Regions from separate parts of the Homo sapiens genome. Here all the other regions are linked to region 1. The links are contacts of gene promoters, found by promoter capture Hi-C in human tissues and cell types (Jung and others, 2019). All regions are on one chromosome and are shown on one strand. The core of a region is centred on a gene start or on the middle of the fragment in contact, and the rest is flanking DNA. Distances in the headings are between cores, read along the strand shown.

Evidence for each region. The method cuts DNA at HindIII sites, captures the fragments that hold promoters and counts their contacts. A contact is called where the count stands out against the background at its distance.
Region 2: a fragment that was not itself captured here is called in contact with the fragment with the promoter of NRN1 in region 1 in 1 of the 25 tissues and cell types used here (IMR-90 fibroblasts).
Region 3: a contact is called between a fragment that was not itself captured here and the fragment with the promoter of NRN1 in region 1, in 1 of the 25 tissues and cell types used here (dorsolateral prefrontal cortex).
Region 4: a contact is called between a fragment that was not itself captured here and the fragment with the promoter of NRN1 in region 1, in 1 of the 25 tissues and cell types used here (lymphoblastoid cells).

Annotation. Positions count from the first base shown.
Region 1 is chr6:6,004,145-6,011,002 of GRCh38, forward strand. It overlaps NRN1 (neuritin 1), which reads right to left and starts at 2,781. Exons shown (of 3, transcript NM_016588.3): 1 at 2,551-2,781. The coding sequence starts at 2,605. RefSeq lists an enhancer at 1-245 and a silencer at 4,712-4,831. The HindIII fragment of the contact is 19,231 bases long and covers 1-6,858 here.
Region 2 is chr6:5,169,325-5,176,182 of GRCh38, forward strand. The region is part of intron 2 of LYRM4 (LYR motif containing 4); the gene reads right to left. All of the region lies in intron 3 of LYRM4-AS1 (LYRM4 antisense RNA 1), which reads left to right. Among named protein-coding and RNA genes, the nearest start is that of MIR3691, 24 kb to the left of the region's middle. The HindIII fragment of the contact is 5,106 bases long and covers 825-5,930 here.
Region 3 is chr6:5,269,927-5,276,784 of GRCh38, forward strand. All of the region lies in intron 1 of FARS2 (phenylalanyl-tRNA synthetase 2, mitochondrial), which reads left to right. Among named protein-coding and RNA genes, the nearest start is that of FARS2, 12 kb to the left of the region's middle. The HindIII fragment of the contact is 3,203 bases long and covers 2,427-5,629 here.
Region 4 is chr6:5,398,415-5,405,272 of GRCh38, forward strand. It overlaps FARS2 (phenylalanyl-tRNA synthetase 2, mitochondrial), which reads left to right. Exons shown (of 7, transcript NM_006567.5): 3 at 6,128-6,287. Among named protein-coding and RNA genes, the nearest start is that of FARS2-AS1, 56 kb to the right of the region's middle. The HindIII fragment of the contact is 5,265 bases long and covers 337-5,601 here.

The DNA of each region.
Region 1 (6,858 bases), core at 1,531-4,030:
AGGTTAACTTCGACCTCCGCTGGGGCAGATACGTAAACCTTCTCAAACCTCCGAGTTCACCTTACAGCGAACATTAAATACCCTTGCGACTACAATACTAACAAATCGAACACTGACGTAAAATCTTAAGAATAAACGAATCTTTGTTCTGATAGAGCTCGTTCAAAATGGAAATACACTCCACACATCTTCCTCTATAACGCATGTCACAAATACAGCTTTGCAGAGAAGAAACGAAATAAAATAAAGTCCAATCTCCCCGTCCACGTCTCTCCCCACCCCTTGCCTACACCCCCAAAACTCAGTGGCGAAAGAAGCCCCTAAAATGCATTGACATTTTTTAAGGGGAATTGGGGCTCGCCGGGGGCGGGAGCGCTCTTGTCACGTTATCTTCCCAGGCGCTGCTGGAGAAGACCCTGCACACCGCGCATGTGTGAGTGTGTGCTGTGTAAAATAAGTCGTGAACATTTCTGTCTTTTAAAACTGTGACTCCTTGGACTCTAGCCTTCTCTGGGAGGCCGGGAGGCTGCGCGCGGGACGGATTTTGCAGGCGCACGCGTCCCAGCAGGTCGCAGCCCGTGGGTCCCTCGCTGTCCTTCCTGAACCCCGCTTAGGCGAGACTCTAGCGGGTGACCCTGGCTCCTTCCCTGTCCTCTCTGCCGTCCCCTTCTTGTGCGGTTTCCATCCGTTCATTCATTCGTTCGACCTCTCATTCATTCCGAACTTCCTCCTGCTGCGTCTTCTTTCGTGTTCACCACACTCTTCTACCTCCCCGCCCCTCCCAACCCCCACTTTTCTTGCCAAATGTCAATGATTTGGGACAGCTCCCAGCCGTGAATTAATAAAGACCGAGGTTCTGTTGCAGGAAAGGGCAGACATTAGGGAACAAATACGTTCAATTTCAATTCCACAGTCAACAAATAGTCATTTTTGGACCGAGGTTAATGTGTTCAAAACGCGTCCCTCAGGCACGACCACCGTCTTTTTTTTCCCTCCAAACCTCTCAAAGTAAGGTTATTTCCTACCGGGAAAACAGAGTCCCAAATCTTGTCCGATTAAAATTTCTATCTCAAAAACAACTCTCTCTCCTGCTCTCTAAAAATTCAAAGGTTTATTGCAAAATGCCACATTCACTTATTTCCAACATTTAAGGAATTTGCTGCCATTAGAAATATTATTTACAGCAGCTCTTTTCACTAATGTCAAAGATTCAAAACAACCAGATTTAAAGCATTGTCATTTTTTGGAACTAAAGGAAAACACCAATATCCTGCACTCACACACTCTAAAATCTTTATAATGTTTCTGCATTATAAAATCTCAAAATCATGTCAGTTGCATAAAACCCCACTGCAAAGAATCCATTTTAAGGTCTAGAGAACTCCAAACCTTGTTTCCTTCACATTTCTTATGGAAAAAACATATTATGCATTCTCCTTTCTTGCCCCAAACCAATTACCTAAAGCACCCCCTCCCCCAATACTGCAAGGATTTGTCTGCAAAGAATGCCACAGCCTGAACTGATAGGAGGTAACAATTCCGTTTCAGGAGTTTCTTTTTTCCCCCGTGTTGTCCATTCTATTAATAACCTGCTTCACTTTCACTTTTAGGCCACGTTAATTAATGTTCTGACCCAGTGTCGGAGAAGGGGGTTTTCTAGTGCCCTCTTCTATATCTTTTCTTCATTCTGGATGGTAAAAATGTGAACTTTAAAAAGACCCCTGACAGCGTAACTACAACTCAACATTCCTTAACATAAAATGGGGACTAAATAATTCCTTCCATAACCAATCCCAAACAAACAAAAATAACAAACACCCGACATGACATATTCCAAACACTTCTTAACCCTTTCCTATATATAAAATGCAGACACCAATGTGTAAAGTAGCAGGCAAATGCATCTAGAAAAGTATATCTACGTAAATTTGGCTGAATTCATCCTCTTCAATGGTAAGCATGTTAAAATATGTGGTCTGAAGTTCCCTATCACTCTCGATTTGCCCACCAGCCGGGTCTGCGGTGCCCGTGCAAACGCTGCAGCTAGGATATAGGGGGGAGGAGGGGCGGGAGAATGACAAAGTTCTAAATGCAGCAGTCTGAGCCCTGGAATATCTTTGCTTTCAGCACATAAACTTTCCAGTCCTGGCTGCCTAGCCATTTTATTCCTGCATTCACATTTCGACTCTTCAAAATCATATCTTGCAGTATCGCAGGGGCCAGTACATTGCCCCAGAGCGCACCAAACCTGGTATAAACCCAGAAAGGGAAACAAAAATGGATGTGTGCTCAGGAAAAAGGGGGAAAAAAACCGTGTCCAGAAAATGTCCGGCCGCACACATTTCCTGGCGAACATTTGGAATCTATAGCTTTAGGAAAAACCGATCTGGGACGCGCTAGTCCCCAGGAACTGATGCCCCCACCCTCGGGGGATTGCCGGCTTCTCCGCACCCTGGGGCGGCCGCGGACCCGCTAGTCCCCCTCCGCGCCTCGGGCCGGGGCAGGCTGCCTCCCGCCTCCAGCCTCCAGCCGGGCTGAGCGGCCACTTACCTATTTGCACCGCGAGGATCAGTGAAATATATCTGCCGTTCAACTTAAGTCCCATCCTACGTTTAGTCAAACCATTTGCGACCGCAGACCTTTAAATAGTTAGTTTAGAGAACGCGGGGGAAAGCCAAAAAATAGGCATTGCCAACAAGTTCCGGGAGCGACAGAGACTTTATGCACTGGGAAGGCAGAGGGAGGAGAGAAAGAGAGGGAGCGAGGAAGAGACAGAAAGAGAGAGAGAGAGAGAAAGAGAGAGAGAGAGAGAGGCTGAGGGGGGGGGGAGAGCTGGGAATGGTTCACTCCATTAGAAGGGGGCGGAGGAAGTACAGCCTCACGCCCACGAGCAGGCCTGACGTGGGGGATGACACGGAATGATTTTTTTTTTAATATAGACACCTTGGTAGAGAATCGCCATTTATAGTCATCAGAAGCTGGAATTAATCAGATATCTCCAATTAATGTGCGATCTGAACGAAATTTTGCCTCCCGGGGGTGAGCACTTTCCTATTCTAGCGGTCACCCCTGCCTCTTCCTCGTTCCGGGGGCCCCCCAGCCCCGCCGCCTCCCTGCGCAGAACAGGGGCTCCCCCTCCCTTCCCCGCCAGGAGCTGGGGAGTCCTGGCGCGCCCACTCGATTGTTTCAACCTGCTCCCCCTCCTCCATCAGCACCACAGAGAATCCAGCCCGCTCTCTACGATGCAGGGGGGTTTAAAGGAGCGGGAGAGGGAAAAACAGCTAAGCTAGCTCGATTAATTCGAAAGCGCTCCTCGGCCGCCCGCCCCCTGCGCTTGCCTACCCTCTTTTTCTCCAACCCAGCAGCTGAGCTCTGGGCGCAGCCTGGAGCGCGTGAGCACGCAGCCCGGCCCCCCGCACGAGCACACACACACACACACACACACACACACACAAACGCGCGCGCGCACGCCCGCCAGCCGCGCCGAGCGCCCCCATGCCCGCCCGCACACAAGGCACGCGAGCGCGCGCACACGCCCAGGCCCCGGGGGTTTGGTTTGCACACGTGGGGCCCCAGAAATAAACACCGAATGTCCTCTGAATTTTACCCACCTGCGATGCCCCAGCGGGCCAAAGGCCGCTTCAAGGGACACAGCGACACCTGTTTTAGGGGGCGAGTAGGGCACCGGGGAAGGAGCCTCTGATAAGACAGTTTTCGGATACTAGTGATTTACCAACCAACTCTCAGCGCTTTAGGAAATTTCCAAGGCAAGCGCTGGTGTGCGGACTTCTTTCTAATCTTGATGCGCCTCTTGGGCTTATTTGTTGGGCTACACACACACGTACCCACACGCACACACGTACATCACGTACGCACACGCACACCCGGACCCACACACACCTGCACTGTCTTTTGATGCTCAGGCACAGACCCTGTGTAGGTGTAGCCTACCCTGCAACAAAATACTTCTGCAGCTGGCTTTGTGCTAGGTGCAAGCTGCTATCGACGACAGCTTGAGTCAAAACCGAAAAACTAACAGGGCTATTTCCTTTCTAAACGCCTTTAAGCTCTGGTTTTCTTCCTTTCTTCTGCACCAAACAGAAAAAAAAAAAGTCTAAATTGTAGCGTCTTTAATAAAATGCTAAAGAAGGCATTGGCCAGCTTTAATCCTTAAGCCTGTGGAGAGAAAAAAATGAAAACGACCCCCCAAATTTTGCCAAACTACACTAGAGGACGTCAAGCTGTCAAACTGTAGAAATGCACACGGATTAAGGAGAAGCGTTGAATTTGCTTCTACAGGCAGCTTGCCCTCTAGGGCCAATCTTGCCGTCCCCATACTCAGATATTTGGAGATGCATAGACAAAGGGGGAGAAAGGTGCAAAATAACGGGGGTAGGACAGGCTGTGGAGGGTAGGGGGCCGAGGGGAAGCTGCGGGGGTCCTACTGCAGCACTTGGTGACGTGAGGTGTCTGCAATGTGCGGCCCCTAACTCACGTCCCGCGGGAGCCTCAGACTCCCATGCAGCCTTCCTGGCCCTGGGGGCGGAGTCATGTCTCCCCGCCCCTGGTTATGTCACCGGCCTGCGGGCGGGGCGGTTGGGGGCTCGCCTTCCGGTGTCCAGGGGCACGGTGGCGGCCCCGGGTGTTTCCTTTCCCCGAGCTCGGAGGCTCCGGGAAGAACCGAAAACGTGGGCGGACAAGGGGTGGGGCGGGGGCTGGTGGCGAGAGGGGGGCGTTTCTCGGACCCTCCCCCGACGTCTTCCAATGGCAGGGCGGGAGGCTTTCCGAGGGGCGGGGCCTCAGGGGGGTTGCCACGCGGCCCGGCCCACGGCTCCGCCCCTCGCTCGGGGTTCCGCGTGGGGCCGGCCCAGCTTTCCCGGACCAGGCCACCAGCTGCGGGCCCCCAACCTCGCTCAGACTCGTGCAGAGCCCAGGCTTGGGAGTGGCTTAAGGTTTTTTGCCCTCAACGTCCTTGCCTTCCTCCTGCTTATCCACCTGGGATCTTCACAGCATCATTTTCTGGGATCCTCTCCAACCCCTCCCCTGTAACTCTGAGCGTGGGGCGCTGGGGATGTGGAGTAGGCAGGGCTGAGGGCCTCAATGAAGCGGGTGAACCCACGCGCGTGCGCACAGCCGCCCGCGCCGCGCCCCGGGCCGATCCGGTTCTTGCCCTTGGGACGTGGCTGCGCCTCACCGCCCTACCCCGGGAGGGAACCCCCGCTGACTTTTTCCTCTCTTCATTTTCCTCCCCAGGCGTCCCAACCTCCCTCATAGGCCTGAGTCTTTTTAAAAGTGAAGAAGAGAGAGGCAAACAGAGTTGGTACTCTACATAAATGATTTTCTGGGTAGATAGATGCACATGACATTTTATTTTTTGAAAAATTCTCATCTTTTAAATTACAGGTCGTTCTGCAGTCCAGGCTCCATGCAGGGTTGATTCTTCGTAGTTCTTTAATTAAAGGATATTGCATTTCATGGTTGTCAATGCATGCTGTCTGGGAACGGTAGCATCCATGGTTGGAGGTGGCTTTGGAGAACGTTCCCTCTTTTATTAATGTGAAAAGCTCATCTCACATCATACTTGGGGTTGAAGATGCAGTGGGAAGAGCAGTGAACAGGGGCAGGGAAACCCAGCTCACAGGCTGACCCCCACACTTTGGAAAATGAAGGAGAGTGGACTATGAAGTAATTTCCAAAGCTGTTTTCACCTTTGAAATTTTGTGAACTGAGGATTTTCTAGAATTCTGTGAATGGGATTAGGAGTGGAAACGCACAATCCGAAGAATAAAATCCGTGCAAGAGTGCTTTTTATAAGCCAACTTCTTGCAAAGAACGTATTTCTTTTTGATAAGCAATTTTGTTTAAAGAAACAAATACAGTTCAGGAGAGGGAAAAAGTCACAGGTGCTGTTTGGGTCTGCATGTTGAATTGAGCCAAAGTAACTCCCAAAAGTAAGTCTGCATAATTAAGGTAATAAATATGCAAAATTCCTTATCCCTAGAACGGCCAGAAAGAGACTATGTCTAATTTTAAGCCTGGTGGGCACCAACTTCCTTTCTCGTTTCATGGCGCTACAGCCCTAGTCTGGATGAGCAGTATGCCAGTTGATTCCCCAGCTCCTGCTATGAATCCATCATAGGTCGGCTTTCCAGAAGCTGCCACCTCGACAAACAACCCTTTGAAATTATTTGCAAGAGCAGTTGTCAAGGCCACTAGGAAATCCCATCTTTGTATTCTAGGTCAGAAAAAATCGCTGCTCTATTAGAATAGATTGGTCTAGCAATACATCTCTCTCATAAATTTAGTCAGTCATTTAAATATCTTCAGCTAAAACCTTTAATAAAAATGTGAATTTATATTACATAACTTTTCATTAAAATGATAACTATACTGTATTTAAACAATCATATAGATTACGAGAGGAAGGAGATTTTTGTGGAGGTATATACATTGGTAGAGGCCCCAGTAAAAATCTACTTCGGGAGGCCTGGGTCTACCCTTGCATCTGTGGCTTGGTAAGGTGATTTTTTTCACTCTCTGATCTTGAGACTCTTTACAAAATTAGTTGAAACTTCAAGGCCTTGCTGGCCGGGCGCGGTGGCTCACACCTGTAATCCCAGCACTTTGGGAGGCCGAGGCAGGAGGATCACCTGAGGTAAGGAGTTCAAGACCAGACTGGTCAACATCTCTACAAAAAATACAAAAATTAGCCGGGCATGGTGGTAGGCGCCTGTAATCCCAGCTACTTGGGAGGCTGAGACGGGAGAATCACTTGAACCCTGGAGGCAGAGGTTGCAGTGAGCTGAGGTCATGCCATTGCACTCCAGCCTGAGGAACACAGCAATACTCTGTCTCAAA
Region 2 (6,858 bases), core at 2,128-4,627, 830 kb before region 1:
AGAATAAGAACAAAAGGAAGGAACTGGCACAAACAAAATGCGTGGACAAAAGGCACCTGGGCACACAGGAGTATTTTCAAGCAGGAATCCCTTTTAAGATGAGGAATTACAACGGGACTTTAAATGACGGCCAAGAGTATAGTCAAATAAGTGGAACTGAGCAGATAACTATACAAGGCAAAAATGCAGTGAGCATGGGTTCTAAGGTTACAAATAAATTCAGTGAGTAGGCGAATTTATAAATATGAATAATGAGAATGAGAGTAGACAGTATGTGAAATACACACCTATTTTCATACATATACACCATACACATTTCCCCCTTTATTTAAAACTTCTTTTTCAACTTTGAAAGTGATTCTTGTCTTGGGATACAATTCACAATTTACAATTACACGCTGACTTATTCGCTTGCCTATTTACCGATGATTTTTCTCACTATTTTGTAAGATCCACAGATCACCTTGCATTCTGTGTCTGCTGTGAGCCTTCTATTGGGATTGGAGGGAGGGACCCATGACCAGTGTAGGAGGGAATGCTCCAACGGTAGGATAACTTGAGAAAGCTTTCAGAGAGACAAGCGTTTAAAAAGAAATGGCCAGCAAAGGTGCCGTGGAGGGGTATTACGGACAAGGTACAAACACGGCTATAGCCCAGGGTCACGCAGACAACAACTGGGCAGGCTGACAGAGCTGAAGTGTCAGGGATTTGGTAATGGTTGTGAAAGCAGAATTTTAGGAGAAAAGCCTAGCTTGGCTACAGTGTACAGTGTTGGTTGAAGGCTGAAGAGGTTATGGGATTCCCACCTGGCATCTTTGGATGCCAAAGGGTTTTGGATCTGAGAAAGGGGGCAAGGTAAATGTCAACATCAAATGTTTGTTTGAAAGCAAGCATTTTCATTTTATTTTCCCAGAAAACCTACTGGAATTAGCATACTGACCTATATACGAAAACCAATCATTAGGAAATAGCTAGAAATCAAAGACTTAACTGAAATCCATGGATTAGGTCCATGCCTTAGTGGAATTGTGTGTGTATGTGCACATATATATATATATGCATTTTTCAAGGGGAGTATCCAAAGCTTAGTCAGATTCACAAAGGGCCTGTGACCCAAAATATTCTTGGGTATCAAAAGAGCTTTCTCACTTTATTTCTTTTATTTATTTATTTATTTATTTATTTAATATTTTTGAGACGGAGTCTCGCTCTGTTGCCCAGACTGGAGTGCAGTGGCGCGATCTCGGCTCACTGTAACCTCTGCCTCCCGTGTTCAAGCGATTCTTGTGCCTCAGCCTCGCGACTTTCTTTCTTTTAAATAGGGCTACACGAGTAACAGGGTTTCATCCAGTCTTATACCACAAGAGTAACACAGCAGTAGAATGTTAAAAACAAACACACACCCTTTTCTCCCCAATTGGGGATGTATAAAATCCCTTTATACTGGGTATACATTTTGACCTATCAATTCTACTTCTAATAATCTATCCTAGTGAACAAAGATATAGGATTCACAAAGGTGTTCATCATAGCACCACTTAAAGAAGCAAAAGCTGAAGTGACCTAACGGTCCACCATTAGGGGTTGGCTCAACATATGATGGTTACTGCGTTGAGTGTACCCTATGTGTCCATTTTAAACTGATGATGCAGGCATATTTTTTACTGATGAAAGATGTTAATTTGAAATTAGGAAATAATAAAAGTAAGTTATAAATGATTAGTAGGATTCCATTTAAGGAAAACTATGCATTCATATTTATCTATCTGTGGAATAACATTTTGAAAGGATATACATGAAAATAATATTTCATGATAAAAAGATTATGAATATTCTTTCTACCCTCAAATATTATTACAATAACCACAGATTATCTGTGTAATAAAAAAGCAATACTTCCCTTAAGCCACCCCTCCTAATGCCAACCAAACCCCTAGTCATCCATCTACGTTACATCCCTCTCCAGCTCCTACCCTAACTCTCCTTTCCTGTCAGGCACAACACTAAAACACTGTTTCGGGAGAGTCCTCCATCCCTCCAGCTCCTATGTTTACAACTGTGAATCACTAAAGCCATTCAGCATCTAACATTTGGAAGACCTATTCTGGCCTCCAGTTTATACCTCTTGCCTGAGAAAGACACACCAACATCAAACAAAAATAAATGATTCCTGGTGTGTGTGTTAGGGGAAGTGGTGGGGGGAGAAACAGTGAAGGCTAAAAGAAAGCCAGGAAATATTTTTATAAGCAGAAATAAATCAGGGAGTTTAAATTTTTCCCGTACTCGATATAAGAATCGATAAGCAGTTGTTACCATTTTGCTGGTGCTTGTTAACCAACCGTATAAACATTTTAAGAGTCTAACGTGCTGACAAAGCACCTCTTTCTGTGGCGAAAACCCTCATGAAGCAAAAGTATACAAAATGCAGGGCTTTTACACCACTGTCATTGTAGGTGATGAGATTTCCCCTGTTTTATCAAACATGGCAGATTTATACAGCATCTTTAAATTGTTTTTTATCATGATTTTTAGGTTGAAGGGATACGGGAAGAATTATGAATGGGGGAAAACCTACTCAGAGTTCATCAATTTCTAGGACAGAACACTGTAAATCACCACTCCATTGGAAGAGAGTCCATAAACATAACAGTGACACCCACATGGCAATAGAGGGTCATGGACAGGACTGCAGTCTTTATGTGGAGCTCTGGGTCGTGTCCTTTAGGGAAAGCTCTCCTGGCTACAGAATGCAAAGAGTCAACACCCACAAGCCTCACAGGCTGCATTCAGGAACCCTTCACCATCCCTGAAAGGTGCTCTGGAGACATACTAACCACCTGACGACAGGCCTACCCGGAAACCCTAGGGTGGCAGCTGATCTAAAAGGAGGCAAGTGAGGATTTGCTGCACACCGTGTGTTCCAACATGCTGGGAAAGCACGCTGTAACACGAGCTGCACAGCACGGAAGAGCATCACCTGAGCGGCAACAATTCTCAGAAGGCCCAAAAAAAGGAGCTGAGGAGGGAGGATTTGTCGGTGCATTTCCAAATACTTTCGAGGGAGAGGAAGCTCTGGACTGTCCAGGAACGATGACCACAGTTTCACGAGCACCTCCCTTCCTTTTGCTTTGATGCTAGCGTCACTAAGCTGCCCCGACCCTACCCTGCTTTGAAATGTGAGATGCCCTAAGGAAAGCTCTCCTCCCAGGGACTGAGCATCTCGTGTTCTCACATCCTGGACCTGTGGGGCTGAAAGTTCCTCTCTGCAAAGGGAGGACCACACAAATGACTGCACCTGGTCCAAAGGGCTCCCCAGCATCTCACAGACACTGTTTTGTTTATCACACAGACAGAAACACGCACCAAAAATCATTCTCATGCTCACAAAGTCAAAACCCTGATGTTTGCATTAATTCTAAAGAGACACGTTAAGGCACTTGAGAGACTAAAATTATTCCTTGATGATTTTCAGAAATACTAATTTTATTCCTTCCTTTCTCCCCCAAAATACTAATAAAGCAATATGGCATTATTTCAGTGACCTATAGGGCTAGCAGCCAGTTACATTCTACTCTTTCACATTAGATGATAAAAACAACCTCCCCAAATGATCTGGAGTCAAGCTGAAGAGCAGCTTCTTCACTGCCAATAAATCCATTTTCTAATTATTCAGAAAGACAGGTTTGTCTTTGGCCCTGACTGCATTAAAAATACCGGAAGTATCATTGCTTTAATGTGCATTATAGAAACATGACTCCCCAAGTGAATCTGATCCATTAATAACATCTCTTTAACTGCTAATGACTTCTGCAGACATGTAATAGAATATTTTATGGCTGTTTTCAACCATCTGTCCTTCTTTCTTTCAATATGAATTTGCCAGAGATGTAATGAAATTTCCTGTCCTCTGTGCCATTACATGTTTGTTAATACCAACACACCAATCAGACACATCAACGCTGTTATGCTCACTATACATGGAGCTATGCTCTGAGCACTGCTCAAGGAATGAGAACCTTCTGTCTCCAATATTCTCTTAGGCTACCCTTGAGCTAGCCCAAGTTTCTAACCTCTGTATGAGCACATTCATGTATGTTCTCGAGATTTGTAGGGCTAATGAATCACGAAGTCTGAATCAGTCATACAATAAGAGTTCTAAGAACAAATACCTGCATTAAAGATGCCACACTTTAAAAAGTTAAACATGATGTGTAAAATTACAATCCTTTTCTTTTCTATGAATGATATCCTACATTAACACATTTGAAATTCAACTAAATTATGCTTTTGAACAGTTAATGAGTACCCCAGTGATCAATATTTCATATTTTCAACTTTTTTCATTTACAAATTCTTTGATTGAGTACTATATGCTAATCACCTTTCATAAAACAGTCCATTGCTCTGAGTGTACGGCTCATGTTTAAATATGTATGCAGAAGAGAAATCCATTTGATAAAAAGATATGTCCTGAATTAATGCGGTGGGTTTTAAAATATAGCCGTAACCTGCTTTAAGGCAGGTTAGACATAGAGTTGCTTTCAATAGGAAGCTGTGCTGGAGACAACAGGCAGATTCCTGGCAGTATGGGTTGCTGTGGTATGAAAAGATCTGTGAAGTGACACTGGAAACTATAGACTGGGGGGCTTTGTTTCGAGGCCTGGGGTAAATGCAGGTCCAAGGAGGAAGCTTCCATTTTGTCCTGAGCCCCAGGATTCTGTGAGAACTGCAACCCAGTGTGCAAAGTGCAGAAAGCTGCCTCCTCTTCGCTCTCTCAGTTCTCTTTTGTTGTCAGACCTGATGTTTTCCTTAGTAGATTCTCTGGAAACATTCTCTGTTTTTTTTTAAGTTAGGGCAAAGAAAAAATAAAGAGTCTTTCACAATCAGCTGTTGGTGTTTAGAGCTTACAACGCATTTTGCAGTGAATGCTCTACAGAGTATCAAAAAATTCATTAAAATTTCACCTGCACAGAGAAAACACAACTAATTTTACCCCTACAGGGCATCAGCTGTGTTACTAAGGACAGTGTCACCTTTAAAGTCAATTCCTGTGGTTGAAATGAGGACTATATGCATCTGTCCTGCTTCCGGCTCCAACCAGAAGTGGTAATGAGGAGAGACAGACGGATGCACAATGATAGTCTTCACAAAAGCTCGAGTTTCAAAATGAAAGGGGAGAGTACTCAGCGCGTCGCATCCTGTTTGGTGTCACTAGGACCTTTCTTCTCAGAGGAAGGAGGCTATTTATAAACTTAATGGTTACTTCAAGGAGGGCAGGCAGAAAAATAAATCTTTAGCTTCAGATTTCTTAAATCTTCTCTTGGTCACTGTTTATTTTGTCTAATTTTCTATAACTTTTATTTAGTCTTTACACTTATAATTGGTAACTGGAAGGTCCCCAATACTAAATTAAGGTGTGTATATATAAACATATATTATCCCCCCTCTCTTTTGAACAGATGTTGTCATGCTTAGGACAAGTTTAAATTCTAACAAACGTCGAGAAAGGCTGAGAATATAAAAGATAAGCAAGGCTTAACGTCAAAATTGAAGCTCTCTTTCAGTTTTATACAGCTAATCATTAAAGTTCTGCTCCTCAGCCAATTCAGCTTAGACACATCACACACGTAATTAATGCACAAAATGCTGCCATTCATGTGCAGATGAAGGAAGGATGCGGTCTATTTATTGAGCGCCTAGATTCTCAGTTACAAGAATTCTTTGCAAATATGATTTAAAGTAAGTAGTATTTAAAGAAGCAATGGCATTCCAGACCCCAATGTGGAAATTTCTGGGGATAAACATAAATGTGCAATCTTAAATAATGCCTTGTTTTATGAGTTCTGGGTCTTTCAAAGAGGGGCTCAGAGCCAGTGCATAGACAAGAGCATAAACCCAGATCTCATGGTATGCTTTTAAAACATTATGAAGCAATATTTCAATATCTAATTTCACATTAAAATGGGAAATCTGGAAACACAAGGACTTCATTCCCACCTCCGTTTGGAACAGCTGTCCTTTAAAACGTAGAGGCCTTCTAGTCAGCCACAGCGCCCTCCACTGGCACTTCTACACATGCCAGCCTCATCCTTCACTTTCCTGCTCGACCTGTGGATTCAAGAGGGAATAGGACACAGGTGGAGTTCTAGGCCCTTATCCTTGAACTGGATTGAGGAAGGGATGGGAGAGGAGAATTAAAGAAGAAAATCAGGAAAAACCATTTCCTGAGGTTTCCAGGATAAAGGGCCAGTGGAATACTAAGGAGAGGGGGCCTGTGGTGGTTTTAAAACAGGGTCACACATTTTGTGACACCCCTGCCATTGAGAATCGGGGGTCTATGTTCCCACACTTTGAATCTGAGCCTGTGACTCCTTTGACCAAAAAAATATGGCAGAAATGAAACTACATATTTCCAAGGCTGTTTCACAAAAGGCCACACAGCTCTGCTCTGTCCTCCAGAACACTCTCCTCTGCAGTTCTGCCCACCAAGTAGGAAGTCGCACTGCTCTGAGGCTACCACGATGTGAGGAAGCCCCGGCCACACAGACATTCTGCTCTACAGCTGCTGCTGATCCTGGCCTAGGCACCAGACCTGTCTCCGGGTGATTCCAAACCCCAGCCATTTGAGTACACCCAGTGTTACAGTCTTCCCAGCTATGGCTGATAGCATGTGCACTATCAGCATTCCCGGCCCAGATAATCTGTGAGTTATAACAAAAATGGTGGTTGTATTACGCTATTAATTTTTTTTTTTTTTTGAGACAGAGTCTCGCTCTATTGCCCAGGCTGGAGTGCAGTGGCGTGATCTCAGCTCACTGTAACCTCTGCCTCCCGGGTTCAAACTATACTTCTGCCTCA
Region 3 (6,858 bases), core at 2,778-5,277, 730 kb before region 1:
CAATTGAAGCACTTCAGCCTGGCAAACTTGTAATCTGTATGTGTAATTGTGAGTTTGAGTTAACTAACAATATTTAAGAGTTATAAAAGCCTGGCTTCTGTGAAATGGATTACAGTAATATTGGCAGAGAGTAAAACAGTTAGTTTCAGTTAATGAAGATGAGTTTTTTGGGAGAATTATCTTTTTTTAAATCAATTCCTGGAATTCTGCAGTGCAAAGGGAAAGTAAAATGAAGCAGTCATGAAATAGAAAAAGCTTAGCAGGCAGCATACTTTCTTTCCTGTTTCTTGACGTTCTGAGATAAGCACATTGTTATTTATTTCAAGTCTTGGAGCACTTTGAGACAAGCACATGTGCCTGGGCATTCATAACATTAAGCCCTGTTAGGAATCCCACTTACACCCTTGGCTTCTGCGTACTGTGAGAGCTGGGCTGGATGATAATTACAGTCAGCTTTCATTTGTAGAGCCCAGGTCTTCAAATAATTTCCAAGTAAACTATCCCAGATTAATACGTTTCAGGACATAAGTGTGGTTCGCTAGAGCTGTCAAGCTGTCTGGATGCCCTTCTGTTAACTTTGTAGAAGAGATTCCACGTGTGTCAAGTTACAGTGTTTGCTGAAATTTTTCTGTTGTCTTGAAAGCTATTTGAAAATGAAATGTTCATTATAGTACTGGTGGTCAGGTATGTTCCTTAGATATATATGAATTAATGTCACCACACTATAGACAGTAATTTTTATATCACCTTCTCTCCAAAAACCTGCAGCACTTTTAGGATGAAGTCTAATTCCTTAACACAGCCTATGAGACCCTGACGACTATGGCGCTTACCCACTTCTCCAGTCCCATGTCATACCTTTTTATTTTTCGCTTGCTGCTTTTCATTCTTTAGTACTCACCTCTTTCCCCTCTACCCTGGGGACCTTTGCAAATGCTGATCCAGCTGCCTGGAGTGCCCTTCCTTCCCTTGCTAATTATTCTTCTGATCTCAGTTTAAGAGATGCTTACTCAAAGCTACCTTCTCTAACTTGAGTACATCTTCCTCTGTTAAGCTCCCTTAGTATGGTGAATTGCTCTTCAGCTTAGAGTGACTGCCATTGCAAGTAACTGAAGTCAAATTGTTTTAAACAAACCTAGTGGCTTTATTGTCTCCTGTGTCTTGAGGGTTCAGAAGCCAGATGGGCTTTAGGGTTGATTGGTTTGAGTGATGTTGCCAAAGATTCAATTTTGTGCTTTTCTCTACTTTGTCTTCTCTAACGTAAATTTTATCGTCTGGCCAGAGTCCTCTCTCTCGGTTATGGGAAACCATCAACAGTTTGGGGGCGCTTGTTTCCAAAACCTTAGAGGAGTGAGAGAGCTTCTGGACCAAGAGTGCTCAGCAGTCCTCTCCGTTCATGTCACTGGCCCTCCTTGTGTCATGTCCTCATCCATTTCTGAACCAATAACTGTGACCAGGGAGAAGATAGGATTCTTTTGGTCTTGAACCAGTTGCCTAGCTCCTAGAGATAAAGGGGAATTATTTTTTGTAAAAGGAACAAAGTTCACTAGAGCAATCTTGCCAGAGTTATATTTTTTTATTTGATTAATTTTTTTGTGATATTAGGCTGTGTATAAGAACAGAGACTATGTCTGTTTTTTTTTTTTTTTTTTTTGAGGCGGAGTCTCGCTCTGTCACCCAGGCTGGAGTGCAGTGGCACGATCTTGGCTCACTGCAACCTCCGCCTCCGGGGTTCAAGCGATTCTTCTACCTCAGCCTCCCGAGTAGCTGGGACTACAGTCGCCCGCCACCACGCCCGGCTAATTTTTATATTTTTAGTAGAGATGGGGTTTCACTATATTGGCCAGGCTGGTCTTGAACTCCTGACCTTGTAATGTGCCCACCTCGGCCTCCCAAGTCTGTTTTTGATTACTATTGTTTCTTCAACATTTTACATCTAGCTTTGCATATAGTAAATGATCGATAAATATTAATAGTGTAATGACTCAATCACGTAAGCTCCAAATACAGTAAGGACCCCCTGCCGCCACCACCCTTACCCATGGTTTTGCTTTCTTAGTTACCCAGAGTCAACTATGTTCTGAAAATATGTAATGGAGAATTCCAGAAATAATGCATGTTTTAAATGGGTGTGTTCTGAGTTTTGTGTTGAAACCTGCCCAGGGCATGAATCCTCCCTTTGTCCAGTGTCTCCATGCTGCATACACGCTACCTGCCCATTAGTCACTTCGTTGCCTTCTCAGTTACCACAAGATCACGATTTTCGTTATGGATAGATGACAAGAAGAAACAGGGTGAGTGCAGTGGGATGAGGTACTTTGAGAGAGAGAAGAGACCATATTCTTTCTCTTTTTCATAACTTTTATTACGGTAGGTATATTGTTATAATTGTTCTACTTTTTATTAGTTTTTCTTGTTGAATTAATGATGGGTTTTTCTTTTTTCTTTCCAAAAAATAATAATAACCACTATCTTATGCGGAAATGATATCACGAACAGTTGCATTATCAAATCAAGGAGGAAATGCAATCAGAGAACAGGCAGAAAAACTATGATTATAATGGTTTGTATTTTTCTTGTCTCAGATTCTTTTATTTATTTATTTTTATTGATACATAATAGATGTACATATTTTTGGGGTACATGTGATACTTTAATACATTCATATAATTTATAAAGATCAAATTAGTGTAATTGTGATATCTATCACCTTAAATATTTGTCTTTATGCTAGAAACATTCAAATTGTTTTCTTCTAGCTATTTTGAAATATGCGATAGATTATTATAATCTATAGTCTCCCGGTGATCCATCAGACACTAAGTCTTATCTCTTCTATCAAGCTGTATTTTTACTTGCTAGTCAATGTCTCTGCATCCCTCCTGCCCTGTACCCTTCTTGGCCTCTGGTCACCACCAGTCTATTCTCTCTTTCCATGAGATTCACTTTTTTAGCTCCGACATACGAGTAAGAACATATGGTATTTGTCTTTCTGTGCTTGGCTTATTTCACTTAACATAATGTCCAGTTCCATTCATGTTGCTGCAAATGGCAGAACTTCATTCTTTTCTATAGCTGAATAATGCTCTGTTGTCTTTTTATGCCACATTTTCTTTGTCCTTTCATCCCTTGATGTACACTTAACATTGATTCCATATTTTGGCTTTTGTGAATAGTGCTGCAATAAACATGGGAGTGCTGATTACAATGCACATATCTTTTTGATAATACTGATTTCTTTTCTTTTGGATATATTCCCAGCAGTGGAATTGCTGGACATATGGTAGTTCTATTTTTAGTTTTTTGAGGAACCTCCACACAGTTTTCCATATTGGCTATACTAACTTATATTTCCACCAACAGTTTACAGGGGTTCCCCTTTCTCCACATCTGTGCCGGCATCTTTTATTCCCTTTTTGATAAAAGCCATTTTAACTGGGGTTAGATGACATCTCATTGTGGTTTTGATTTGCATTTCTCTGATGATTAGTGATGTTGAGCATTTTTCATGTATCTACTGGCCATTTGTATGTCTTCATTTCAGAAATGTCTATTGAGATCTTTGGCCCAATTTTTAATCAGATTGTGTTTTTTTTTTATTGAGTTGTTTGTGCTCATTATATATTCTGGTTATTAATCCCTTGCCAGGTGGATGGTTTGCAAATACTTTTTCCTATTCTGTGGGAGATTCTGGGTTGTGTTTTCACTTTGTTGATTGTTTCCTTTGCTTACAGAAGCGTTTTTGCTTGATGTAATCTAATTTTTCTCTTTTTGCTTTGGTGGCCTGTACTTTTGAGGTCTTCACAAAAAATCTTTGCCCAGACCAATATCCTGGGTTGTTTCCCCAATGTATTCTTGTAGTAGTTTCATAGTTTCAGGTCTTAGATTTAAATCTTTAATCTACTTTTATTTGATTTTTGTATATGGTGAGAGATAGGAACTTAGCATCATTTATTGAAGAGTGTTTTTTTTCCCCATTGTATGTTCTCAACACCTTTGTGGAAAATAAATTGACTGTAAATGTATTGATTTATATCTGGTTCTCTATTTTATTATTAGTTATTGTTGTTAAATCTCTTACTCTACCTAATTTATAAATTAAACTTTATCATAGATATTCACGTACAGGAAAAAACATAGTAAACAGTACTTAGGGTTTCGTACGCTCCACAGTTTCAGGCATCAACTGCAGGTCTTGGAACCTCCGTAGACAAAGAGGAGCTACTGTAACTTACCTGTAAAAATTATTGAGTGACTTTGGCAGATAGTATTAGTTGGCTACCCATCAGCCATATCAACCGTACTTCTTCCCGGCCATTAGAACCCTGATTTTGTTTGGGTGGCCATGTGCCTAGTTCCTGGAAATGAATTGTAATGCGGTCTTAGGCTTCATAGTGATTGCATTCCCTCTTTACCAGATACTTGTTTGTCATAGCCAGGCATAGCCACAAGACACAGATCTGGTTAATGAGACAACAGGAAGTTGTCTGGAAGGTTTCTAGGAAAGATTTTGTTTTCTATTAAAAGATAAGTATTTGCACAAGAGGGCTTACTTGTGTCATCTTCTCCCCTGCTTGGAATGCAAGTAATACTAAAGCTTGAAGCTCAGCAGACACACATGAAGGAAAGGCCAAGAGAATATGAGATTCCAGCCTAAACATTGGCTTTTCTGAGCCATGAAATGAACCCTGGAACTGGATGCGTCTAGACTTCGTGTTTTGTTAACAACTAATGTCTTTCTGTTTTCAGCCACGATTATTTAGTCTTTCTGTTTTATGCAGCTCACCATGTCTTTTTTTTTTGAGACAGGGTCTTGCTCTGTCACCCCAGCTGGAGTGCAGTGGCACAGTCATGGCTCACTGCAGCCTCCAACTTCCGGGCTCAAGCAATCCTTCTGCATCAGCCTCCCAAGTAGCTGGGACTACAGGTGCATGCCACCTCACCCAGCTAATTAAAACAAATTTGTTTTTGGTAGAAATGGGGTTTTGCTCTGTTGCCCAGGCTAGTTTTAAACTTCTGGCTTCAAGCAGTCCTCCTGCCTCGGCCTCCCAAAGTGTTGGGATTACAGGTGTGAGCCTGGCCCTACATATTTCAATATAGTGCCAAAAATAAAATAGAACTTCCCCGCTTCAGCCTTGCCAAAAGTCTTTATTTGGAATTTATTATATTTGTCAATTTAAGTTATTTGTTTTTGCTGGTTGCGAATCACTGGGATATTTTCTTTCTTTTTCTTCTTAAACAGATGCATTTGTTACATGTACACAAGGCCAAGCTTTTTTGCACTGAAGGACATTGGTATATGAGGGTCCTTCTCTTGAATAATCAATATTTTCTTATACTCTTCACTCCAGTCATGACTACTCAGCTTAAATGTTACTTCTTCAGGGAATGTTCCCAACCTCAGTTTAAATTACACCCTTCTGATTTTATCATTATTTCTTATGACATCTTGTTCTTTACCTTAACTTTTTATAATTTAAAATTGTACAAAGTAGATCTACATAATAGAAGGTTCCTGGTTTAATGTTGAGTTCTCCCACCAGAATGTGAATTCTGTGAGGGCTGGGACCATGTCTATTTTGTTCATCACTAGAGGCATAGTGCCTACTAAGTGCTCAGTAAATCTTTGTTAAATGAGGAAATGAAGGAATATAAGCCTGAAATTTTTAGATTTCTGCATCTTTCATCCTCCTGCCCTGTCACCACCAAGAATATTAGGTAACATGAAGTGTTCAGCCACAGCACAGATTCTGTTGCATTTGTTTGGATTATATTGCTCCCTACTGGCCAGGATTTAGGTTTAGATTTTAGGCTTTTAGACTTTAATTTTGTTTGCCTCAATAGAAAATATAATGGGAGTAGCATAGTCACTTAGCATAGTATCTGAGTAAACATCCTGTCAGTTCCTTCAGAAGAGTGATACATATTTTGCATACTTTATCTCTTGCGTTACGATATATTCTCCCAGAATTTTATATTATCTTAAGCTTTGCTGGCACTATTTTTATATATTGAAGTTAAGAGCCCCTAGTAGTGAATGTTTTTATTTTCTGCTTTTGGATAGCACTAGAAGCATGGAAATGACTATCATTTTAGCTCTGTTACTAGTCACAATCATTTAAAATTGCATTTGGAAACCCTATTTTCTTTCTGAAAAAGTAGGCTCAATGGGGGAGTTGTAAGAATTATTGACACAAGTTATTGACTTAGAATGGAGGTACTTTAAAATAAATTTTTTAGTTTCAGCATGCTGTAATTCTAGATTGTTGGTATTAGTTTTACCGTGTCTGGGAAGATTTATTGTGCATTTTTGAAATGAGTGTAAATGCTGTATATATGTGATAGTAAGGGAGAAAACTTGACTAAGATTTTGTCGATTTGGTCTCATTTCACAGCTGTATCATAGGTTTTTTCACATCATTTTAGGTAAATTACTTAACATTTAGATAATCACATAATTTATTTCCTACATCAGGACACTTGAGATCAGTGAAAGTGGGTGCTATTAAATAATTATACTGGCATGACAGGCATAAACATGAACTGTCTTGGGGATACTGAGACATATGGTCACTCTATTTGATAACAATAATCTGTGATGACTATGTTAATCTGCATACCCTTGTGAATTGCAGGAACTAAGAATTGGAGGCTCATCAAAGAGCTTTACTTTCCCTTTATTCTTTACGGAATGGCTGCATCCTCAACACCTTCTGCCCAGAGGTGTGATTCTTCAATTGTGTGGATCACTCTGGGTCCCCAAACTGATGTGGTTCCCTGGGCAGTAGGAGACTGGGACTGTGGGTTGTTCTCTGCTTCAGGGATGAATCTCTTTGTGCAGGATTAGCTGGCTGTACT
Region 4 (6,858 bases), core at 1,719-4,218, 610 kb before region 1:
AAATTTACCCAGGTTTGGTCTTTGGGAGCCCCTTAAGTAGTTTTCTGTGTCCTCTGACATGTTATCATTTTTTGTCCCCATGAGATATCCCAGATTCATCTTTTACTTTCTCCACCCCAGCCCTGGAATCAGTCATTTCTTTAAGAAACTCTGTTCCTTTTTTATTAAAGAATGGTATTTAGAAGCCTAGACCTGAGTATACTTATTGCCCTAGGGATATCATTACTTGTAGGCCCCCTCTAGTGACAGAGCTAGGAAATACATATACCTACTTCTATTTCCGTATTGATGTATCTGCATATATGTTACAAAATATGAATTCATATGAGTACCTCCAATCTAAGCCAACACCACATGGCTCATTCTAGCCCTCCCCATTGCCTTTGATAGTGACAGTGAGAAACCTGGTTCTTCTTACTCATGACATATTTATTTTCTTGTTCAGTCCTGGAATGAACATAAAGGTAGTTTCATAATTGTTAACACATACCTCTGTGGAAAAAATTTGCTAACTAGTGTACAATATTTGCTATGTTTATTTTGTTTTTCATCTTATTTAGTTAAAATACTGTTTTTGAAAGTTATTTTGGTTAATTCTTTTCTTCTCCACTCTCTTTAAGTGGCTGTCATTTATTTAGAATAAACTTCTGTCCATCATTACTGTTTGTATTCCATTTGTGTTCTTCCCACCTCTGGGTAGATTTTATATTATTTTATTATTATTATTATTATTATTATTATTATTATTATTATTATTATTATCATCATCATCATCATCGAGACGGAGTCTCCTTTTGTTGCCCAGGCTAGAGTACAGTGGCATGATGTAGGCGCACTGCAATTCCTGCCTCCCGGGTTCAAGTGATTCTCTTGTCTCAGCCTCCCAAGTAGCTGGGATCACAGACGTGTGCCACCACGCCTGGCTAATTTTTGTATTTTTTGGTAGAGATGGTGTTTCACCATGTTGGCCAGGCTGGTCTTGAACTCCTGACCTCAAGTGATCCTCCTGCCTTGGCCTCCCAAAGTGCTGGGATTGCAGGTGTCAGGATTTTATTTTTAATGTTTTGCGTAGATAAAGTATTAACGTCCTTCTAAAACTCAGAACTATACAACAAGGTTTACTTAGAGGTCATGACCCCCACTCTGCCATTCATTATACTCTATTCCCATTCAACCATTTTTTCCATCCTGTTTCCACCACCTCTGTGTAGGTGATTTATTTTTGTTATTTCTAGCCTATCCTTCCTTTTTTTCACAAATGAGATGATTCATGTGTATTTTATTATTTCTTACATGAAAGGTAGCAAGTAATATATGCCCTCTTGCACTTTGCCTTTTTTATTTATCAGGATGTCTTGAAAATCATTCCATATCAGTCCAGAGAGATCTTCCTCGTTCTTTATTACACCTGCAAAAGTACTCTATTGTATAGGTAGACCATAGTTTATTTAACATCTTTCCAATGTGAGACTTTTTAAAAAAATATGGTGCAGTTACAAACAATACTACAATGAAAATTTTGTGCATGTGTATTAATGTTGGAAGTATATTTTCAGGGTAAGTAGTTAGAAATGGAAGGACTGGGTCAAGAGATCAACAAATATGTAGTTTTGTTGGGTGTTGTCAAATTCATCTCCAAAAGGGTTCTACCAGTTTCCATTTTCACCAGCAAAGTATGACTGTACTTATTTTCCAAAGCCTCAGCGTATTCAAAAGAATATGTTGTCTGACTTTTAACTTTTTGCCATTGTGATAGAAGTATTATGTCAGTGTTATTTTAATTTGCTTAATTTGCTCTTTAAGTTTGAATTCCTTTTCATGTGTTCAGGGGTCATTTTCATATCTTTTTTTTGATGAATTGTCTGTTCTTTTTCTATGGAGTTTTTGGCCCTTTGTCAACTTTTAAAAGTTTCTTTACGTTAGTGGTATTACCTCTTTGTGGTGTATGTTTCCTGACTTTTGTTCCCCTTCTTTTTTTGTCAGTTTTCAGGTGGAAAGACCTTTATGTGTGTGTGTGTTTGTATGTTGTTAATGGGAATGATTTTTAGTTTTATTGTATTTTAATCAGAGAGTATAGTTTATTATTTCTTCTTTATGGAATATACTTATTTCTTTGTGACTTACTATGTGATCAATTTTTGTTAATATTCTCTGGGCCCTTGAAAATAAAATGTATTTTTCATTATGAAGGGAGTAAGTTTAATATGTGTGTATGTGTGTGTGTGTGTGTAAAATATACGTATACATATTTATGTATACACACATGATTTCATTTCCTAATTATGTTTTTAGGTCTTTTATCTTATTAATTTTGCACATTTGATCTTATACTAAGAATGATGTATTAAAGTTTCCTATTATCATTAATATTAATGTGTTTCTATGTGTGTCTTTTGCGTCCCCTATGGTTCTTTCTACACAGAGGTAATAATTGTCTTATTGATATATAGATATTCATAAGTGTTATACCTTCACTGTGATTTGAAACTTTTAGCATTAATACAAGATCTTCTTTGTCTTGCTCGGTGTTTTTTTGCTTGAATTCTACTTTTTCTGATTTTAAGAATGCTATGCTTGCTTTTTTATTGTATCCATTTGCCTGTTATATTCTGTCCATCCATTTGTTTTTAACATTGTTTTAGGTGTATCTTTTGTATAGTTGAGTCATGCTTTGTGGCCAGATTTATTTTTTTAAGAGGTGAATTAAGCCTGTTCATATTTATTGATATTACTTTCACATTTATTGAGTTATTGATATATTCGATCTGAACTTTATCATAATATATTGTGGTGTTATATATGTCATAACATGTTACATTTTATTTCTCTACAATATATGTTTTATTATGCTTTTGAATTGAAATTTTGGTTGCTCTTTAGAAAGGTTATATTTTTGTTTTAATGGTTGCTTTTATACTTAAAACTTTTAAAGTCCCTTATCCCTCATTTTTAACTTTGTTCTTAGTAAAAGTATTCTTTAACTATTGCCTATGCAATAATCAGTATATTCTACTTTCCTCTTTGCTGCTTTCTTCCATTGTTTAGTTACGTTATTTCTACTTTGTCAGAACATATAACAATTGGATATTAGTCTTTCAATGTAATCCCCAGCTTTTAGTCTGAAATCTGTAATTTTTATGTATTAACATGTTCTCCATTTGTTTTGTGCTGAAATTTTCCTAGTTATTTATTACTTGAACAAGGCTCATGCTTTGGTAAATTCTTCAGAAAGAGCTCATTAATGTGACATTCCTATGCTCTTGTGTGTTTCACGTTTTTTCTGTAGACTTGGTGCTTTAAGGACAGCATTGATGGATATAAACTTCTTGACCCACATTTTTAAAAACTGAGTTGTTTGAAAATGTGGCTTCATTGTTGTCTTGTTTCCGTGTTGTTTTTGAAGAATCTGATGCCACTCTGATTGCTTTACTCCTCTACATTAGTTGATCTTTTTGCCTAGAGGCCTTGACGATTTTCCCCATTATTTATGAAATCTGTTTTATAAGAATATGTCCTATATTTGATTTTTCCAGGTTCTTTTTCACAGGTACCCATTTTATCTGGTATTAGTTCTGCTCCATTGTTTTTTTTTCCCTCTTTAACGGACTCCAATTATATAAATGTAATTCCTTCTTTGCCTGTGTTCCATTTCTACCACTTTCTTTCTGATTCTTCTTTCTTTATTTTACCATCCTCCTTCTGGTTGTTTTTCTCCTTTTCTTCAATGCCCCCTCATTAAATCTTGATTGATTCCATTGTCCCTTGCATGCTTTGGAATTTAGATTTTGTTTCTGAGATGATTTTATTTCTTTTTTTTTTCTGAGTTAAATCAATTCTCTTTTCATTTTTTCTCTATTTTTGTTCTTAATTTTTGAGTTTCTGACTAAAGCAATTTATATCCTTAAATGCTTGATTGAGCATATGTAACTTAGTTTTTAAGTATTAGTTTGTGTTTCTTTTTAGTGCTCCTTAGTTTTGGGGGGTGGGTGGGAGAAAAGTTGGATTTTCATTAGTTGAGCTCTTTTGAATTGACTTTCTGATTTTTGAGTAATAATTTTCTATATTTTTATTGAATTTATTTGTCGTTCCTTTTTGGTTGTGTAAAAGACTTCCTTAGTCTCTGGTGCCCTCTTCTGTTAGTGTAGCAATGCACACTTTAGTGGTTTATTTATTTATTTTTGGTGTGGGTTAGAGAATGGTTTTGTAAATCCTCTAATTTTTTAGCTGTGCTTTATCTTTCACAACCTTGAATTTTCTCATTTGCATCTTTTTTCTCTTCCTACTCAATTGAAAAGGTTGTCTTTCGCTTTGTATTAACTCCTTTTTCTTTTATTGTAACTATGGTTTTGGGATCCTCTCACTTCAAATTGGGCATGCTTTTACACCACTTTTCTGTGGTCCCTGCTCAGGCCTACTAGGACACTTTTTAAAGGCTTTTCACACTTAGTGTAACTTACACTTTCTGGGTTTCTAAGGTCAACCTTAGCACCTCACTCATTCTCCTCTCTTTCTCTTATTTTTTCCAGCTTGCTCTTGCTTACTTCAAAGCCTTATCAGTGGGGTAGGAGTATAACAGTTCTGTCCCTAGGTTTTGACTGGCATTCCTTCCTGCCTGCCTGCCTGCCTGCCAAAGGCATTGTGTTCAATAGTTTTATTTGTTCTTGTTGCTCTAAATTATTTTTAGAGGAAGCATTGACAGCCGTCATTGTCTTTAGTCCTCATAAGAATAATTTGAGGCCTAGGATATTAGAATATTTCTCTGAAAACGGTTTTGTCTCATTTTGCTGGCCAGTTAGAGGAAGTATGTCTGGGATTGCCTTAGATCATCTTCGTAGCCTGAAGCTCTCTCTATTGTTCAGAAAATGTGATACCTGACTGCAAGTCTACACAAGGACTGGTTTACTTTTGTGCTCATCCTCATCAGGGGGATGAGTCTTTTAGGGACTCAAACACCCCAGCTTGGTTCCACAGCAAAGCTTTCCCTTTTGTCTCACTTCCATGGTAAGCTGTTACAACCCATGTTCAGGTTTTCAGTTGATAGGTTAGATAGGCAGATACTCTCAATGCTTCTCTCTGGCTTTGTGCTTACTTTATTTTTTATTTTTATTTTTTAATTTTTTACCCCTGGCTTCATGCTTCCTGTAGAGTTCAGTCACTCCTCTCTATCTCGGTTTTACTTCTTCAATGCTGTTAAGAATTTCTGTATTTTTTTCAGTAGCATTTATCAGGAAGTTTGGTTCTAATTATCAAAACCAACATTACTAGAAATGGCAGCTGACTCATTCTTTTATTAAAACATTTTTTATGTTTGATTATGGGACTTTGGGTGGGAAGAATGATACATTCATTTGCTCAGTTATCCCTTTTGAGCCAATCTTCTACCAAGTAAAGACCTGCTGTGTCACTGACCAGAAAGTTACTTTATTTCAGTGGTAAAGCAGCTTATGACTAATGATAGCTGTGGTTAATAATCATGAAGACAATAATGAGGAAAACTTATTTAGCCATTGGAATGTGCCAGATACTCTGTATTTTTTATATATTATTTTGTTTGTAATAAAATCTACTAATTTACTATTATTATTCCCACTTTATAGATGATTCCCTGAGGCTTAGCTACTGTATCACTTGCCTAAGTTTACACAGATAGTAAGCGGCAGAAACATGTTTGAGGCTCTGCCTTGAGCCTTGGAGATACAGGACTAGCAAATTCCAGCTTGCTTCCTACCTTCATGGACCTTACAGGATTTAATTCCTCGACACTGTGGGATGGTCAGGGATGTAATTTTAGAATATGAAAGCGATTCACTAGTATTTCCACTAGAATTGAGGATAATGTCTCTTGTTGGGAACTGACTATAAGTTCATGCAAATCAAAAACAGATTAGCAAAGATCAGAAGAGTGTCTTAATTCTCTAAAAACCCCCCATACCATGTAGCGTAGTGTTTTCTTCAGAGTTGTACTAAGTGAATGTTAATTTCATTACGTTTATTGACAGGACATAATGAGTCTTATTCCCACATTATAACTTTTTAGAGTCAAAAGATTCTTAGCAGAATTTTAAAGTTATCTGATATAGATGGGCCAGGATATTTTCTTTATTTATACTTTCCTGTTGGTTTACAGTTATTTGCTGGTATAAAGGATGGAGAAAGCCTGCAGCTCTTTGAACAAAGTTCTCGCTCTGCGCATAAACAAGAGACACACACCATGGAGGCCGTGAAGCTTGTAGAGTTTGATCTTAAGCAAACGCTTACCAGGCTCATGGCACATCTTTTTGGAGATGGTAAGTGCTCAAACACAGGTTGACGATCTCTTATCTGAAATACTTGGGACAGAAGTGTTTTGGATTTGGGTTTTTTTTTTTTTTTTCATATTTTGAAATTCTTTTTTTTTTTCCCCGAGACGGAGTCTTGCTCTGTCACCCAGGCTGGAGTATAGTGGTGCGATCTCGGCTCACTGCAACCTCCACCTCCCGGGTTCAAGGAATTCTCCTGCCTCAGCCTCTGAGTAGCTGGGATTATAGGCGCCCATCACCACACTTGGCTAATTTTTATATTTTTAGTAGAGACAGGGTTTTACCATGTTGGCCAAGCTATTCTCAAACCCCTGGCCTCGTGATCCGCCCACCTCGGCCTCCCAAAGTGTTGGGATTACAGGCATGAGCCACCGCGCCAGGCCTGAAATTCTTGCATATACATAATGAGATGTCTTGGGGATGGGAGCCAAGTCTAAACACGAAATTCATTTGTATTTCATATACACTTTACGCACATAGTCTGAAGGTAATTTGATATAATATTTTAAATAATTTCGTGCGTGAAACAAAGTTTTGACTGCGATTTGACTGAAAATCT